Regions from separate parts of the Homo sapiens genome. Here regions 2, 3 and 4 are each linked to region 1. Evidence: promoter capture Hi-C in 16 types of primary human blood cells and fetal thymus (Javierre and others, 2016). All regions are on one chromosome and are shown on one strand. The core of a region is centred on a gene start or on the middle of the fragment in contact, and the rest is flanking DNA. Distances in the headings are between cores, read along the strand shown. Region 1 holds the start of TOR1A (torsin family 1 member A). Region 2 has its middle 5.1 kb from the start of MIR12126. Region 3 overlaps GPR107 (G protein-coupled receptor 107). Region 4 overlaps GPR107 (G protein-coupled receptor 107).

Region 1 (3,657 bases), core at 396-2,895:
TTCAACATAGAACTCCCAAATCTCATCCCACAACAAAGAGACCCCAAACCCGATGACATCCAGGAAGGGATTCCAAACTTCCATCCTTGCCTTGTACAAGGTGATGTTTGAAGCATGTGGAAAGTGCAATGTGGCCACAAACAGGTGGACATAGTCACTGTTCAGACCACCCTCGTAAATATTCTCTGCGATGATCTTGCTGACGAAATTTTTGCCGGTGCCTGTCCACCCGTGCAGGGAGAGCGTGAGAGGTTTCTTGGGCTTTGGGTTGTTTATGAAACCAAACACGGCATTTAAGATGATTTTCTTTGCAAGATGCTGTCCAAAGAGGTTGTCGTCCAGATCCTTCTGCAGTGCTGGGAAAGACAAAGCCAATCAGGAGTGGGGAAGAAACAGCGGCAAAATGTAGCCACATTTACAGCCCATAAGAAAGCCAGCAAAGCCGTCTAGACGCCCTCCAAGCACCTTGCGAAACCTCAAGTACTGCGGTCTGTAAGCTCCTGGCCCAGAGGGGACGGCGGTCCAGGGAGCCCTCCCTTTGCTGGTCCTGCCTATTCTAAAGCCCTGGCCCGACTCCTTCCCGAAAAGCCCCTTGGTGCCACTGCCACTGCCACCAGTTTGCACCCCTAACCCCTGTGCTGCTCCTCCCACCCCAAGGCAGAGCCGGGAAAGGAAACAGTTTGGTCCCTCCTGGTCGGCTGCGGAAGAGTCCTCACCATCCTTCCTGTCTCCCGCTAGGCTAGAAAGGAGGCAGAACCCACTTCGGAGGGAGGTTACCACTGGTCCACCCCCAGCTTAGCGCAAAGTAGGCCAACCTGCAGCCTGGCTCCTCAGGTCTCCGACTTAAGTCTGGCACGTCTGTGGTCATGGCCGAGGAGCCAGGCCTCATCCTGCAGGCCGGCCGCTTGGCTTCCGGGGTCCGGCCCCCGCGGACTCAGCTCTGCCCAGGCCCGGCCCTCCTGGGATGTGACCCCTACCCCGGCCTGGCCCTAGTGCCATCCCCCAGCCCCAGCCCCAGCCCCAGCCCCCGCTCCTGAGCCCCAGCCCCCAAACTCCGCTCCAGCCCCAGTCCTAGCCCGGCCCTACTGCCATCCCCCAGCCTCCATCCACCATCCTCAATCCCCTAGCCCCAGCCAACCGCCCTGGTCTTAACCCAGCCCTAGTGCGATCCCCCAGCCCCACCCCCAGCCCCCGGGCCCCGCTCCATCCCCCAGCCCCAGCCCCAGCCCCAACCCGGCCCTAGTGCCATCGCCCAGCCCCAGCCCCCAGGCCCCGCTCCAGCCCTAGTCCTAGCCCGGCCCTGGTGCCATCCCCCGGCCTCCATCCTCCATTCTCCATGCCCTGGTCCTAGTTCAGCCCTAGTGCCATCGCCCAGCCCCAGCCCCAGCCCCAGCCTCCAGCCCCCGCCCCAGCCTACCCTCCCGGCTAAGGCTCCGCTTCTGCCCGCAGCACTCGGCGAAGAGGCAGTAGAGACGCGGGTAGATGTAGCCGGTGAGGACGCCGGCCAGGGCCAGTCCCAGGCTGATGGGCTCCACCGCCTGCACCACGGACGGCGCCAGCAGCAGCAGGCCCAGCACGGCCCGGCCCAGCTTCATGCCCGGACCCGCGCCACCCTGCTTGTTCTCGCGCCGACCGCGAACCGGTGCAGCCGCCAGACCCACGCTTCCGGTTCCTCCTCTCGCGGAGGCCATCTTTCTTCAGGGCAGCCCTCCTCCCGACGCCGGCGGCCGCCATCTTTGTTCGGTACAAAGCCCTGTTTTGCTTCCGGAAACTCGGTTCTGCTCCGCCCCTGTTGGCCACGTGTTTTTGTTTATGGACGTTATTTTTGCCAGGCATGGTGGCTCCTGCCTGTAATCCCAGCCCTTTGGGAGGCTGAGGCGGGCGGATCACCTGAGGTCAGGAGTTCGAGACCAGCCTGACCAACATGGTGAAACCACGTCTCTACTAAAAATATAAAATTAGCCGGGTGTGGTGGTAGGCACCTGTAGCCCTAGCTACTGGGGAGGCTGACACATGAGAATCGCTTGAACCCAGGAGGCGGAGATTGCAGTGAGCCGAGATCTCACCACTGCACTCCAGCCTGGGAGACAGAGCAAGACTGTGTCCCCTCCCCGCAAATAATAATAATAATAATAATAATAATAACGGACGTTATTTTTTAGAACAGATTTACAGAAAAATTGAGAAGATAGTAGAGAGTTCCCATGTGCCACCCATCCCTGCAATTTCCCCTATTACTAAAATCTTACATTATTAGTGTGCTACATTTGTTAAAATTAACGATGCACTGTTGTCATATTAACTAAAGTGTAGTTTATTCAGATTTCCTTCCTTTTACTTAATGCCTTTTTCTGCTGCAGGTTTCCATTCAGGATACCACATTATATTTCGTTGTCATGTCTTAGACTACTGTTAATGACAGTGTCTCAGCCTTTTATTTTTATTTTAGCTGGAGTGCAGTGGCATGATCTCAGCTCACTGCAACCTCTGCCTCCCAGGTTCAAGCGATTCTCCTGTCTCAGCCTCCTGAGCAGCTGGGATTACAGGCACACACCACCATGCCCGGCTAATTTTTGTATTTTTGGTAGAGACGGGGTTTCACCATGTTGGCCAGGATGGTCTTGATCTGACCTCATGATCTGCCCGTCTCAGCCTCCCAAAGTGCTGGGATTACAGGCGTGAGCCACCGCGCCTGGCCTCAGCTTTTTATTTTTGATGACCTTGATAGTTTTGAGGAGTACTGGCCAAATCTTTGGTGGGCTGGCCCTCTATTGGGATTTGATGTTTTTCTCAGGATTAGACAAGCGTTATGGCGTTTTGGAAGGAAGATCACAGAGGTAAAGTGCTATGCTCATCACATCCTACCAAGGAAGGGTTCTTACTGTTCAACGTTACTTACCACTGTTGGTGCTGACTTGATCACTTGACTGAAGTAGTGTTTGTCAGGTCCCCCCACCCCTCTTTTCTCTACTGTACTCTTTGGAAGGACGTCCCCATGCACAGCCCACACGTAAGGAGTCGGGGATTTTGCTCCACCTCCTTGGGGGCAGAGTATCTACAGAAATTATTTGGAATTCTGCATGGGAGATTTGTTTCTTCTCCCCCATGTATTCAATCATTTATATCAGTGTGGACCATTGTTATTTTATCCTTTGTTATACTACAGTACTAATTTTTTTTTCAAATTGTTCTCATTTTGGCCACTGGGAATTTGAGTGGTTCCTTGTGCTCCTTTGACATACACCCAGTGTATATACCAGCTTATTTGGGTTTGAGTGCCTCTTTCCTTTCTGACACTACAGGATACTCCGGGCTCATCTTGTATTTCCTGCCCCAGTCCTAGAATCCTATTTTCTACGAGGAACCCTGATTCCTTTCATTGTAAAATGGCATTAGAAACTGGCTGGGCATGGTGGCTCATGCCTGTAATCCAGCATTTTGGGAGGCTGAGGCAGGTGCATCACCTGAGGTCAGGAGTTTGGGACCAGCCTGACCAATATGGTGAAACCCCATCTCTACTGAAAATACAAAAAAATTAGCTAGGCATGGTTGCGTGTGCCTGTAGTCTCAGCTACATGGGAGGCTGAAACAGGAGAATTCCTTGAACTTGGGAGGTGGAGGTTGCAGTGAGCCGAGATCGCACCACTGCACTCCAGC
Region 2 (3,657 bases), core at 547-3,046, 420 kb after region 1:
CTTCCCAGAATCTGAAATTTTCCACGAGGCCACAGGGCTGAGCCCTCGTGTGAGGAGAAGCCACCTTCCTGGTGCAAGCACAAGTCAGATCCGTGGCTCCTCGGAACCACCCAGCCCCAGTGGCCACAGGGCAGCAGGTGTCCTTGGCTGACTTCTGGCCTCTCCCTGCCAGGGGCTCTCCCAGAAGTAAAGGAAGGTGATGAACCGGCCACTCCCATAAGCCCTGAGACCCCCGAGGCCTCGGCCCCATCCTCACCCTCCTAACCAGTCTTGCGACAGGGCTGGAGAAAGGGTTTCCCCCATAAGAGGGACTCTGATTGGCCAGTGGGGGACCTAGGGAGGCCTGGGATATGACGGGCAGGTGGGGCTGGAGAAAGCCGGCTCTCTTTGGTGCTCTTGGCTGGTTTTCAAATGTCTTGAAGCTACTGTGGTTGCCATACCCATCTGGCTGTAAATTAAATTTGGGGCGAAGGGACCTCTTGTCCCAAAGTTTCTCATCTCATCCAGCATGACTGGCAGTTAAGGTTCCTTCTCTGGGTTCCAGTGCTGGCTGCATCCCCACCAGCAGTTGGCTTTGGAGATAGACTGAATCTGAACTTCTCTGAGCTTCAGTTTCCTCCTCTTTAAAGTGAGGATAATAGAAGCACGTTTCTCATAGGGCTGCTGGGGAGCATCTGTGTGATGCTCAGATGATCTGTCTGAGGGCCTTTCCTACGTGAAAACAGTGAATGTCATTGATATTATCCAATTCTCTCCACCCCAAAGTTGTTGCCCCTTCATTTTGGTCCATCGATTTGGCTATCAGCTTTTATTTCTTGCCACTTGGGCCATGGGTGAAGCTGCACTCAAGATCTGGGTCCAAGTCCAAAATTTCAGAGAGGAAAATACCTTGAAACAGGAGCCTGTCATGAACTAGTCGATAGCAGAGGGAGGCTCCCCACTGCCAACATGACCTCTGCCCCACCAACCCCAAGGGGCCCCCCACAACCACCCAGGGAGCTATCTCTGGGGCACCTGGCCCGGGCGCAGTGGCGCACGCCTGTAATTCCTCCCTTGGGAGGCCGAGGCGCGTGGATCACTTGAGGTAAGGAGTTCGAGACCAGCCTGGCCAATATGGTGAAATCCTGTCACTATTAAAAATACAAAATTTAGCCAGAAATCTCTTAAACCTGGGAGGTGGAGGTTGCAGTGAGCTGAGATCGCACCGCTGTACTCCAGCCTGAGTGACAGAGTGAGACTTTATCTGAAAAAAAAAAAAAAAAAAAAATTGGTCTGGCCCTTGCCCCCGCTTTTTCTGGAGCCACGAGGACCCATATAGCCAGATAAATAGGAAAACTGGAGCCCCAGGGCCTGTGATGAGTTTACATCAAATAGAGCCCTGCTATATGCAATCACTGTCACTAGAATCACTACTTGGAAATTCCCCAGCTCAATCCCCAGCACAAAGTGGGCTAAGCTTTTGCTCAGTGCCAGAGAAAAACTGAGAGGTTAGAAAGATGCAGGTGACAGAGAAGGATGATAAAATGATGTTTCCCATCAAGTGAAATGAAAGGTTTTGCAATGTGTTCCTCTGTTTCCTTACAAGTAGGAACAGCCTCTCCAGGGAGCACCAGCTTGGAGGACACATAGCCACTCCCAGAGCCCCGGTCCCTGCTGTCCATAGGGGTAGCACGTCACCAGCACCATGTCCTGGCCTCTGAGTCAACAAGACCAGGCTGAGACCCAGTGGAAGCACCAGCTGGTGACTCTGAGCAGCTTCTTTTCCCTAATCTCTCTTTTTTTCTTTTCTTTTTTTTGAAACAGGGCCTTACTCTTTTATCCAGGCTGGAGTACAGTGGTGTGATCATAGCTCACTGCAGTCTCGAACTCTTGGCCTTAGGTGATCCTCCCATGTCAGCCTCCCAAGTAGCTGAGACTACAGTCACATGCCATCACACCCGGCCTGTTCCCTAATCCTTTGTGTATGTGTGTATTAAGTTGATAATTATAAAAAATAATATACTTTGCACCTTAATGCTATGAGTGAGTGCTCTTCAACTATGAAGAACAAGATTAAATTATATCCAACGGAATGAGCTTGAAATGTTTAACAAATCCATACCAAAAAACACAGAAGAAAAAGCCTTTTTATTCCAATGAAGCTTGGGTGTTACTTCCATGAATGTTCCTTCCAAAACACGTGTTTGAAATGTAATTGCCATTGTGACAGTATTACGAGCTGGTGCTTTAGGAAGTGGTTAGGCCATGACAGTTCTGCCCTCATGAGTGGGTTAATGCCTTGGTTGGGTACGGTGGCTTACACCTGTAATCCCAGCACTCCGGGAGGCTGAGGCAGACAGATCACTTGAAGTCAGGAGTTAGAGACCAGCCTGGCCAGCATGGTGAAACCCCGTCTCTACCAAAAAATACAAAAATTAGCCAGGTGTGGTAGCACATGCCTGTAATCCCAGCTACTCAGGAGGCTGAGGTGGGATAGTCACTTGAACCTGGGAGGCAGAGGTTGCAGTGAGCCGAGATCAAACCACTGCACTCCAGTCTGGGTGACAGAGTGAGACCCTGTCTCAAAAAAATTTTAAAAAGGCGGGCTTTGAGGAGTGGGTTCTTTCTTTCTCACGCTCACTTGCCCTTCCACCTTCTGCCATGGGATGACACACCATGAAGGCCCTTACAAGGTGCTGGCACCTTGATATTGAACTTCTCAGTCTCCAGAACTGTGAGAAATAAATTTCTTTTTTCTTTTCTTTTCTTTTCTTTTTTTTTTTTTTTTTGAGACGGAGTTTTGCTCTTGTTGCCCAGGCTGGAGTGCCATGGCACAATCTTGGTTCACCGCAACCTCCACTTCCCACGTTCAAGCGATTCTTTTGCCTCAGCCTCCCGAGTAGCTAAGATTACAGGTACGTGCCACCATGCCCGGCTAAATGTGTACTTTTAGTAGAGACAGGGTTTCACCATATTGGTCAGGTTGGTCTCAAACTCCTGACCTCAGGTGATCCACCTGCCTCAGCCTCCCAAAGTGTTGGGATTACAGGCGTTGAGTCACAATGCCAGGCCACATTATGAATTTTGATAAAGTCAGCTTCTCAAGTTTTCCTGTCATAGACTGTGCTTTTGGTGTCATGTGTAAGAACTCTCTGCCTATCCTCAGGTGGTGAATATTTGTTCTCCTGTGTTTCTTCTAAAAGTTTGAAAGTTTTGGCCAGGCGCGGTGGCTCATGCCTATAATCCCAGCACTTTGGGAGACTCAGGCGGGCGGATCACGAGGTCAGGAGATCGAGACCATCCTGGCTAACACGGTGAAACCCCGTCTCTACTAAAAACACAAAAAATTAGCCGGGCGTGATGGCGGGTGCCTGTAGTCCCAGCTACTCGGGAGGCTGAGGCAGGAGAATGGCGTGAACCCGGGAGGCGGAGCTTGCAGTGAGCTGAGATCGCGCCACTGCACTCCAACCTGGGCGACAGACCGAGACTCCGTCTCAAAAAAAAAAAAAAGTTTGAGAGTTTTATGTTTTTTCTATTTAGACCTATGACTTATTTTGAATTAATTTTTGTATAAGGTGTGAGGTTTAGGTCAAGGTTCATTTTTTGTTTATTATTATTTGTTTTTTCTTTTGCATACGGACGTCCAATTGTTCTAAGGCCATATGTGGGAAAGAATAT
Region 3 (3,657 bases), core at 686-3,185, 290 kb after region 1:
CAGTGACTCATTTCATGGCCTTGACAGTAACTTGGGCTTTTCTTTTTTTTAATTTAAAATTTTTGTAGAGATGAGGTCTCACTCTGTTGCCCAGGCTGGTCTTAAACTCCTAACCTCAAGCCATCGTCCTGCCTCATGAGGCCTCCCAAAATGCTGGCATTACAGGTGTGAGCCACTGCATCTGGCCACTTCGGGCTTAAGAATCTCACTTTTAGGCCAGGCATGGTGGCTTAGGCCTGTAATGCTAGCGCTTTGGGAGGCCGAGGCAGGAGGATTGCTTGAGGCCAGGAGTTTTAGACCAGCCTGGGTGACATAATAGCAAGATCCCATCTCTACCAAAACCACACAAAAAACTGTGGCAGACCAGCCTGGGCAACATGGCAAAACCCCACCTCTAGAAAAAGATACAAAAATTATCGGGGCTTGATGGCACACGCCTGTAGTCCCAGCTACTTGGGAGGGTGAGGTGAGAAGATCACTTGAGCCCAGGAGATCAAGGCTACAGTGAGCTGAGATTGTACCACTGTACTCCAGCTTGGGCAACAGAGCCAGACCCTATCTCAAAACAACAACAACAACAAAACACTATGGCAAAGAATCTCATTTTTAGTTTAGGTGCAGTCCAGGCCCAGTAACTGCAAGTGAGAGACATGCCATTTGTAGTTTTCCTTCCTGCATTGGGGTGAATACAGCTTTCCGTTTTGGGGTGAATACAGCTTTCAGTTTTGGGGTGAATACAGTTTTCAGTTTTGGGGTGAATACAGCTTTCAGAGAGTGTTTGTTTGGCTTTTACTTTGTTGTCTCTGGATTCCTTTTGACCAAACCTGAGGGAAATCTAAAGGAAAGCATTGAGGCCGAAGCTGCCCACTGTCCTTTAGCCGCGTCTTTGTCTCTCCTGTCACGCGCAGTGGCTTCTCTCAGGTCCTCGGTCACTGAGACTCACAGCTGCACTGCATCCTCCGAGAGGGAGCTTAATTGAGTCTCGCACAGACACACCTAGCGCTGGCTCCACTCTGTCTCGCCTGCTAAGATTTACTGGCTCTGACTGCCCTTGAGCCCGCATCCGCGTTCCCTTCTCTTTCTCCAGTGTCATTACCTTATAGGACTGGCGTCGAGATACACACCGTAAATTTAATTAACAGTCTCTGCTGCTCACCATCCTTTTTTTGGGCCTTGTGTTTCTGAGGAAAAGTCAGAAGATGTATTCTGAAGAGCCTTAGCTTTCATGTGAGCTTCAGAAGTATTTAAACAATCCCGGTTGGCTGGCTGCAGAGTTGATGGAGGAACGGCTTCATTCCGAGGTGCCGCCGTGCTCTGAAAGGAGCCGCGACCATGCGAGGCATTTGTTAGGGCAGCGGTTCTCAAGGGGGTCCTCGGGATCAAAACTATTTTCATAATCATACGGTGTGAGTCTCTTGTGCTGTTGACATTTGCCTGATGGTGAAAAGCAATGATGGGTGAAATTGCCGGCACCGTCACGTGATTCCAGGCTGTGGTACCAGAATCTGCCAGTAGCCACTGCATTCTTTACTGTCACCTACTCACAGGGGGTGAAAAAGGCTCATATCACTTAAGAATGGTCTTGAAATAATAAAACTGTTGATGTGATTAAATCTCAACCCTTGCCTTTTAATATTCTGTGAGACAGCATGGGAGGTGTGCACACAGCACTGCTGCTGGGCCTGAAGTGTGATGGGTGTGGCCTTGAGGGAAAGTACGTGTGCACTTGTTTGAATTGCAAGCTGAACTAGCTGCTTTTATTTTATTTTTTTGTTGTTTTTTATTTATTTATTTTTTTGAGACAGGGTCTTGCACTGTTGCCCAGGCTGGAGTCCAGTGGTGTAATCTTGGCTTACTGCAGCCTCAACCTCCTGGGCCCAACCGATCCTCTCACCTCAGCCCTCAAAGTAGCTAGGACTACAGGCGTGTGCTGCTATGCCTGGCTAATTTTTGTATTTTTTGTAGAGATAGGATTTTGTCATATTGCCCAGGCTAGTCTCAAACTCCTGAGCTCAAGTGATCCACCCACCTAGGCCTCCCAGAGTACTGAGATAACAGGCATGAGCCACTGTGCCTGGCCAAGCTGCTTTTATCTGGAAGAATGACTGTTATGGTGACACAGACATGGGTTTGTGGTGGACATTTTCTTGAAAATGAACAAAGTGAACATATTACTTCAACAAAAACAACTAATAGTATTTGTTGCCAGTGATAAAAGAAAACTTGTGTTTATCCCTGTCAGCCTGACAGTTTCCTAACTGACAGTTTCCCAGATCTTTTTTTTTTTTTTTTTTTTTCCTTGAGTCAGGCTGGAGTGCAATGGCACAATCTCAGCTCACTGCAGCCTTGACCTCCTGGGCTCAAGTGAGCCTCCCACTGCAGCCTCCTGAGTAGGTGGGACTACAGGTCTTTCCACCATGCCCGGCTAATTCTTATATTTTTTGTAGAGACGGGGTCTCAATTTGTTGCCCAAGCTGGTCTCAAACTCTGACCTCAAGTGATCCACCCACCTCGGCCTCCCAAAGTGCTGGGATTATAGGTGTGAGCCACCACACCCGGCCAGTTTCCCAGTTCTTATAAGACTTATGATGTAAGCAGAGGTGATACTAACAATGTGATTTTTTTAAGAATTCTATAATAAAATGTTTCTGTATCTGGGAGATCTACATAACACACTGAAACATTGTCTTCCACCTGGCCAGTGCAGGATGTTCCATAGTCATGCATGGGGGTAAAAGCTCTCCTGAAAGTGCAGGATGGACCAGTGGAGTTTATTAATGTAAGAGTGTGGAAAGTTCATTGATAAATTTCAGATTCCCCACCTCCCTCATCTTTAGAAGCAACCTCTTGTCAGGTTTTAATGTAGAATCACAGACTATTCACAGTAATCTGAAAAGGCCTACATCTATCTGTATGGGGCCAGATTTTCTTCATATATTTTCACCAAATACTCCCTCACAGCAAGTTGAATGCTGATTGAATCAAATATGAGAACCCAGCTGCATGTTATTAAGCTAGACATTAAAGAGAATTACAAAAATAATTCTGGTCTTCTCATTCTTTTTTTTTTTTTTTTTTTTCATTTTTTTTTTTTAGAAAAGAGGTTTTTTATTTTGGGGCCAGGCACAGTGGCTTATGCCTGTAATCCCAGCACTTTGGGAGGCGGAGGCAAACGGATCAGTTGAGGTCAGGAGTTCGAGACCAGCCTGGCCAACATGGTAAAACCCTGTCTCTACTAAAAATACAAAAATTAGCTGAGCGTGGTAGCGCACACCTGTAATCCCAGCTACTCGAGAAGCTGAGGTAGAAGGATTGCTTGAACCCGGGAGGCGGAGTTTGCAGTGAATTGAGATTGTGCCACTGCACTCCAGCCTGGGCCGCAGAGTAAGACTCCGTCTCGAAAAAATATATACATATATTATTAATTAATTTTAGAGACAGGGTCCTGTGTCACGCAGGCTGGAGTGCAGTGGTGTGATCATAGTTCATTGTAACCTCAAACTCCTAGGCTCATGTGATCGTCTCATCTTAGTCTCCCAAGTAGCTGGAATTACAGGCATGCACTACCATGCCTCACTAATTTTTAAAATTTTTTTTGTGGAGATAGAGTCTCACCATTTTGCCCAGGCTGATCTTGAACTCCTGGCCTCTAGCTGT
Region 4 (3,657 bases), core at 596-3,095, 270 kb after region 1:
TGAGATTTCAGCTCACCGCAACCTCTGTCCCCCAGGTTCAAGCGATTCTCTTGCCTCAGCCTCCCGAGTAACTGGGATTACAGGTGCCTGCCACCATGCCTGGCGAATTTTTGCATTTTTAGTAGAGACTGGCTTTTGCCATGTTGGCCAGGCTGGTCTTGAACTCCTGACCTCAGGTGATCCACCTGCCTTGGCCTCCCAAAGTGCTGGGATTACAGGCGTGAGCCACTGCGCCCGGCCTCTGTTGTTTTTTTTTATTTTTTATTTTTTATTTTTTTCAAAGAAAGTTCTACTTTTGCCTTTACTGGAAAAGTAAGAACTAGGAGTCAGACCTGATTTCAGGTGTGAACTTGGACAGTGACTGCCTGTGTGCCTTGCTTCACTGTAAATCTCTTTTTTTCTTGGCTATGAAACTGGGACAGTAATAGTTACTCTGCCTTCCTGTAAGAGTCTTGGATTCTTAGACATGTTGTGTGATTCTCCCTAAGATAATGTGTATGAGAGGGCTTTGCAAATCAGGGCGCAATCCAAACATGAGGTGTTTATAAAATAGTTTAGTAGCCAGGGGTTCAGTGGTGTTTTAATTTTCCTTTAGTTATTGGTGGCAATAGTCATTGTCACTGGTTCACTTGTATCAAATTGTGGTAACAGTTTTCTTTATTTTATTTTTTTTGAGACAGAGTCTCGCTCTGTCGCCAGGCTGGAGTGCAGTGGTGCAATCTTGGCTCACTGCAACCTCTGCCTTCTGGGTTTGAGTGATTCTTCTGCCTCAGCCTCCCAAGTAGCTGGGACTACAGGCGTCCGCCACCATGCCTGGCTTATTTTTGTATTTTTAGTAGAGACGGGGTTTCACCATGTTGGCTGGGATGGTCTTGATCTCTTTACTTCGTGATCCACCTGCCTTGGCCTCCCATTGTGCTGGGATTACCAGCATGAGCCAGTGCACCCAGACCGTGATAACACAGTTTTCAATCTGTGGTTAAATGAGGCTGACCTATTGTGTACAAGTCTCATCTGTAATTTTTGTTGGAGTATAGTGTGCATGGGGGAAGGTCAGTTAAGTCCTGCCCATGTTTTCCCGGGAGTCTTAGAGTCAGTTCTGGTAGGCTGGAAACCCACATGATATAAAGGCATATGACCAAGGCCGCCAGGCGCATTTCACTGGCCCCTGAAAGCTGGAAACGACTAAGAGATCTTTGCCTCATTTATTGAGGCCCAGAGAGGGGAAACGAGAGCCAGTGTCACCCAACAGACCTGGGACTGGAACTCGGGTCTGCTTGCTAGTATGTATCAGGCCCCTCCCAACTTCAAGTGTAGGTAGAACTAGTATTTGAGCCGAGGTCAGTGAGTATTCTTTCCATCACATCTCTGCCCCATCGTAGATATTCTAACCATGGACTGCAAGTCAAGGTTGCCAGAGTGTGAATGAGCACAGCTCTTTGTGGTGGGTGGTTTTACACTCTGGGTAAATCTCATTGGCATTCAGTAGTTCCAGGCTATTCTGGCCTTGACTTCCCTTTTGACCTTCAAGTAGGTGGGCACTGGAACAGGAAAGTACCAGGGAGGAAATGAGCCCAGAAACTGATATCCCTTTGTGGTACACTCTCATTCTCACTTGGTGCCAGGCCCCTCTCCTGCTCTATTGTTCCCCTTCATTTCCTGTCCCCTCTCCCACTCCTTCCCAGTAGTGGAGAACTGCTCAAATGTGTTGCATATACATTTTTGGACTTTTTTTTTTTTTTTTTTGAGACCTCGTCTCACTCTGTGCCCCAGGCTGGAGTGCAGTGGTGCAATCTCAGCTCACTGCAACCTCCGCCTCCCGGGTCAAGCAATTCTCGTGCTTCAGCCTCCCGAGTAGCTGGGACTACAGGCGCCTGCCACCATGCCCGGCTAATTTTTGTATTTTTCGTAGAGACGGGGTTTCACTACGTTGGCCAGGCTGGTCTAGAATTCCTGACCTCAGGTGATCGGCCTCCCAAAGTGCTGGGATTACAGGCGTGAGCCACTGCGTCTGGCCTGATTTTTGGATATTTCTATATTCTTATAGATAAGTACTGTTTACTGGTGTTGCATTTATTTTAAGTTTACATAAAATATCTATAGACGTTGTTGTACATTTTTTACTCAGTATTATCCTTTCTGCGATCTAGCCATGTGGCTGAGTGTGCATCTCATTCATTGATTTTTACCTACTCCACAGCATCCCATGCTCTGTGTCCTCACGTTTGACTGCTTTGGTCCTTTAGTGATAGACACACGCCTGGACTGCCTACATCTCCCTGCTACCTCAGCCAGTGCTGGCATGTACCTCCAAAGATCCCCTGTGGATCTGTGCAGCCTCCGAGCTGCAGTCCCAGAAGGAAGCACACTGTGCCATGGGTAGTTAATTTCTTTTCTTTACTTTTCTTTTTTTTCTTTTTTTTTTTTTTTTTGAGACAGAGTCTCACTCTGTCACCCAAGCTGGAGTGCAGTGGCACCATCTTGGCTCATTGCAACCTCCACCTCCTGAGTGCAAGCGATTCTCCTGCCTCACCCTCCTGAGTAGCTGGGACTATAGGCATGTACGCCCATGCCGGGCTAATTTTTGTATTTTTAGTAGAGACGGGTTTTCACTGTGTTGGCCAAGCAGGTCTTGAACTCCTGGCCTCAAGAGATCCTCCCGCCTCGGCCTCCCAAAGTGCTGGGACTACAGGCATGAGCCACTGCGCCCAGCCATCAGTTAATTTCGTTAAGGGCCAGATTGCCTTCCAGTGTGGCATATAGGTTTATACGTCTACCAGTGGTGCATACATAATAAGGTTTGCTGTTTCTCCACATTCTTACCAATACTGACATCTTAATTTTTGCCAATCTGATAGGTGTAAAGTGGTATCTTGCTTTATTTTGCGTTTCTCTGAATATTGGTGATGTGGATTATCATTTTAGAGACTTAACCATTTCCCCTCTTGTGGCTGCCTGTATTCTTTGGGTTTTTTTTTTTTTTTTTGAGACAGGGTCTCACTAAGTTGTCCAGGCTGGAGCAGTGGCGTAATCAAGGCTTACAGCAGCCTCAAACTCCTGAGCTCAAGTGATCCTCCCACCTCAGCCTCCCGAATAGCTGAAACTATAGGGACGCACCACCACTCCTGGCTTAATTTTTGTTTGTTTTGAGACCGTTTTGAGACAGGGACTCGCTCTGTCACCCAGTCTGGAGTGCAATGGCACAGTCACGGCTCATTGCAGCCTTTGCCTCCTGGGCTCAAGTGATCCTCCCACATCAGCCTCCCAAGTAGCTGGGACTACAGGTGTGCACCGCCACACCCAGCTAACTTTTTGTATTTTTGGTAGAGATGGAGTTTTGTCATCTTGCCCAGGCTAATCCCAAACTCTTGGGCTTAAGTAATCTTCCCACCTCAGCCTCCCTAAGTGTGGGATTACAGGCATGAGCCACTGCACCTAGCCTCATAATAGTCTTAATATGTTCTATTAGGTTAATTCCTAAGGGGAGGTGGGAAGGAGTAGAGGAATTTAATGCCCGGCAGCCGAAAGGTGGACTAGTATCTGTGATGGGGTGGGCATGGGAATGGGTGCTTTGTCTCATTGGCCTGGGGTATTTGCAGACACCAGCCATGAAGGAGAGAGAAATGGGCATGACCCTGGCACTTTCTCCTCACACAT

Evidence for each region. Contacts are between HindIII fragments. The CHiCAGO score rates a contact against its expected background, and 5 or more counts as called.
Region 2: a contact is called between a fragment that was not itself captured here and the fragment with the promoter of TOR1A in region 1, in 2 of 17 cell types (endothelial precursors and activated CD4 T cells). The highest score is 5.8, in endothelial precursors.
Region 3: a contact is called between a fragment that was not itself captured here and the fragment with the promoter of TOR1A in region 1, in 3 of 17 cell types (activated CD4 T cells, endothelial precursors and megakaryocytes). The highest score is 5.7, in activated CD4 T cells.
Region 4: a fragment that was not itself captured here is called in contact with the fragment with the promoter of TOR1A in region 1 in 12 of 17 cell types (naive CD4 T cells, activated CD4 T cells, non-activated CD4 T cells and 9 more); the score reaches 13.3 in naive CD4 T cells.

The regions. Positions count from the first base shown.
Region 1 is chr9:129,822,491-129,826,147 of GRCh38, forward strand. It overlaps TOR1A (torsin family 1 member A), which reads right to left and starts at 1,646. Exons shown (of 5, transcript NM_000113.3): 1 at 1,418-1,646; 2 at 91-356. The coding sequence starts at 1,595. RefSeq lists a silencer at 1,031-1,120 and an enhancer at 1,531-1,840. The HindIII fragment of the contact is 11,037 bases long and covers 1-3,657 here.
Region 2 is chr9:130,244,657-130,248,313 of GRCh38, forward strand. No RefSeq gene overlaps it. Among named protein-coding and RNA genes, the nearest start is that of MIR12126, 5.1 kb to the left of the region's middle. The HindIII fragment of the contact is 685 bases long and covers 1,455-2,139 here.
Region 3 is chr9:130,110,970-130,114,626 of GRCh38, forward strand. The region is part of intron 14 of GPR107 (G protein-coupled receptor 107); the gene reads left to right. Among named protein-coding and RNA genes, the nearest start is that of GPRACR, 31 kb to the right of the region's middle. The HindIII fragment of the contact is 3,979 bases long and covers 1-3,657 here.
Region 4 is chr9:130,094,741-130,098,397 of GRCh38, forward strand. All of the region lies in intron 9 of GPR107 (G protein-coupled receptor 107), which reads left to right. Among named protein-coding and RNA genes, the nearest start is that of GPR107, 43 kb to the left of the region's middle. The HindIII fragment of the contact is 8,854 bases long and covers 1-3,657 here.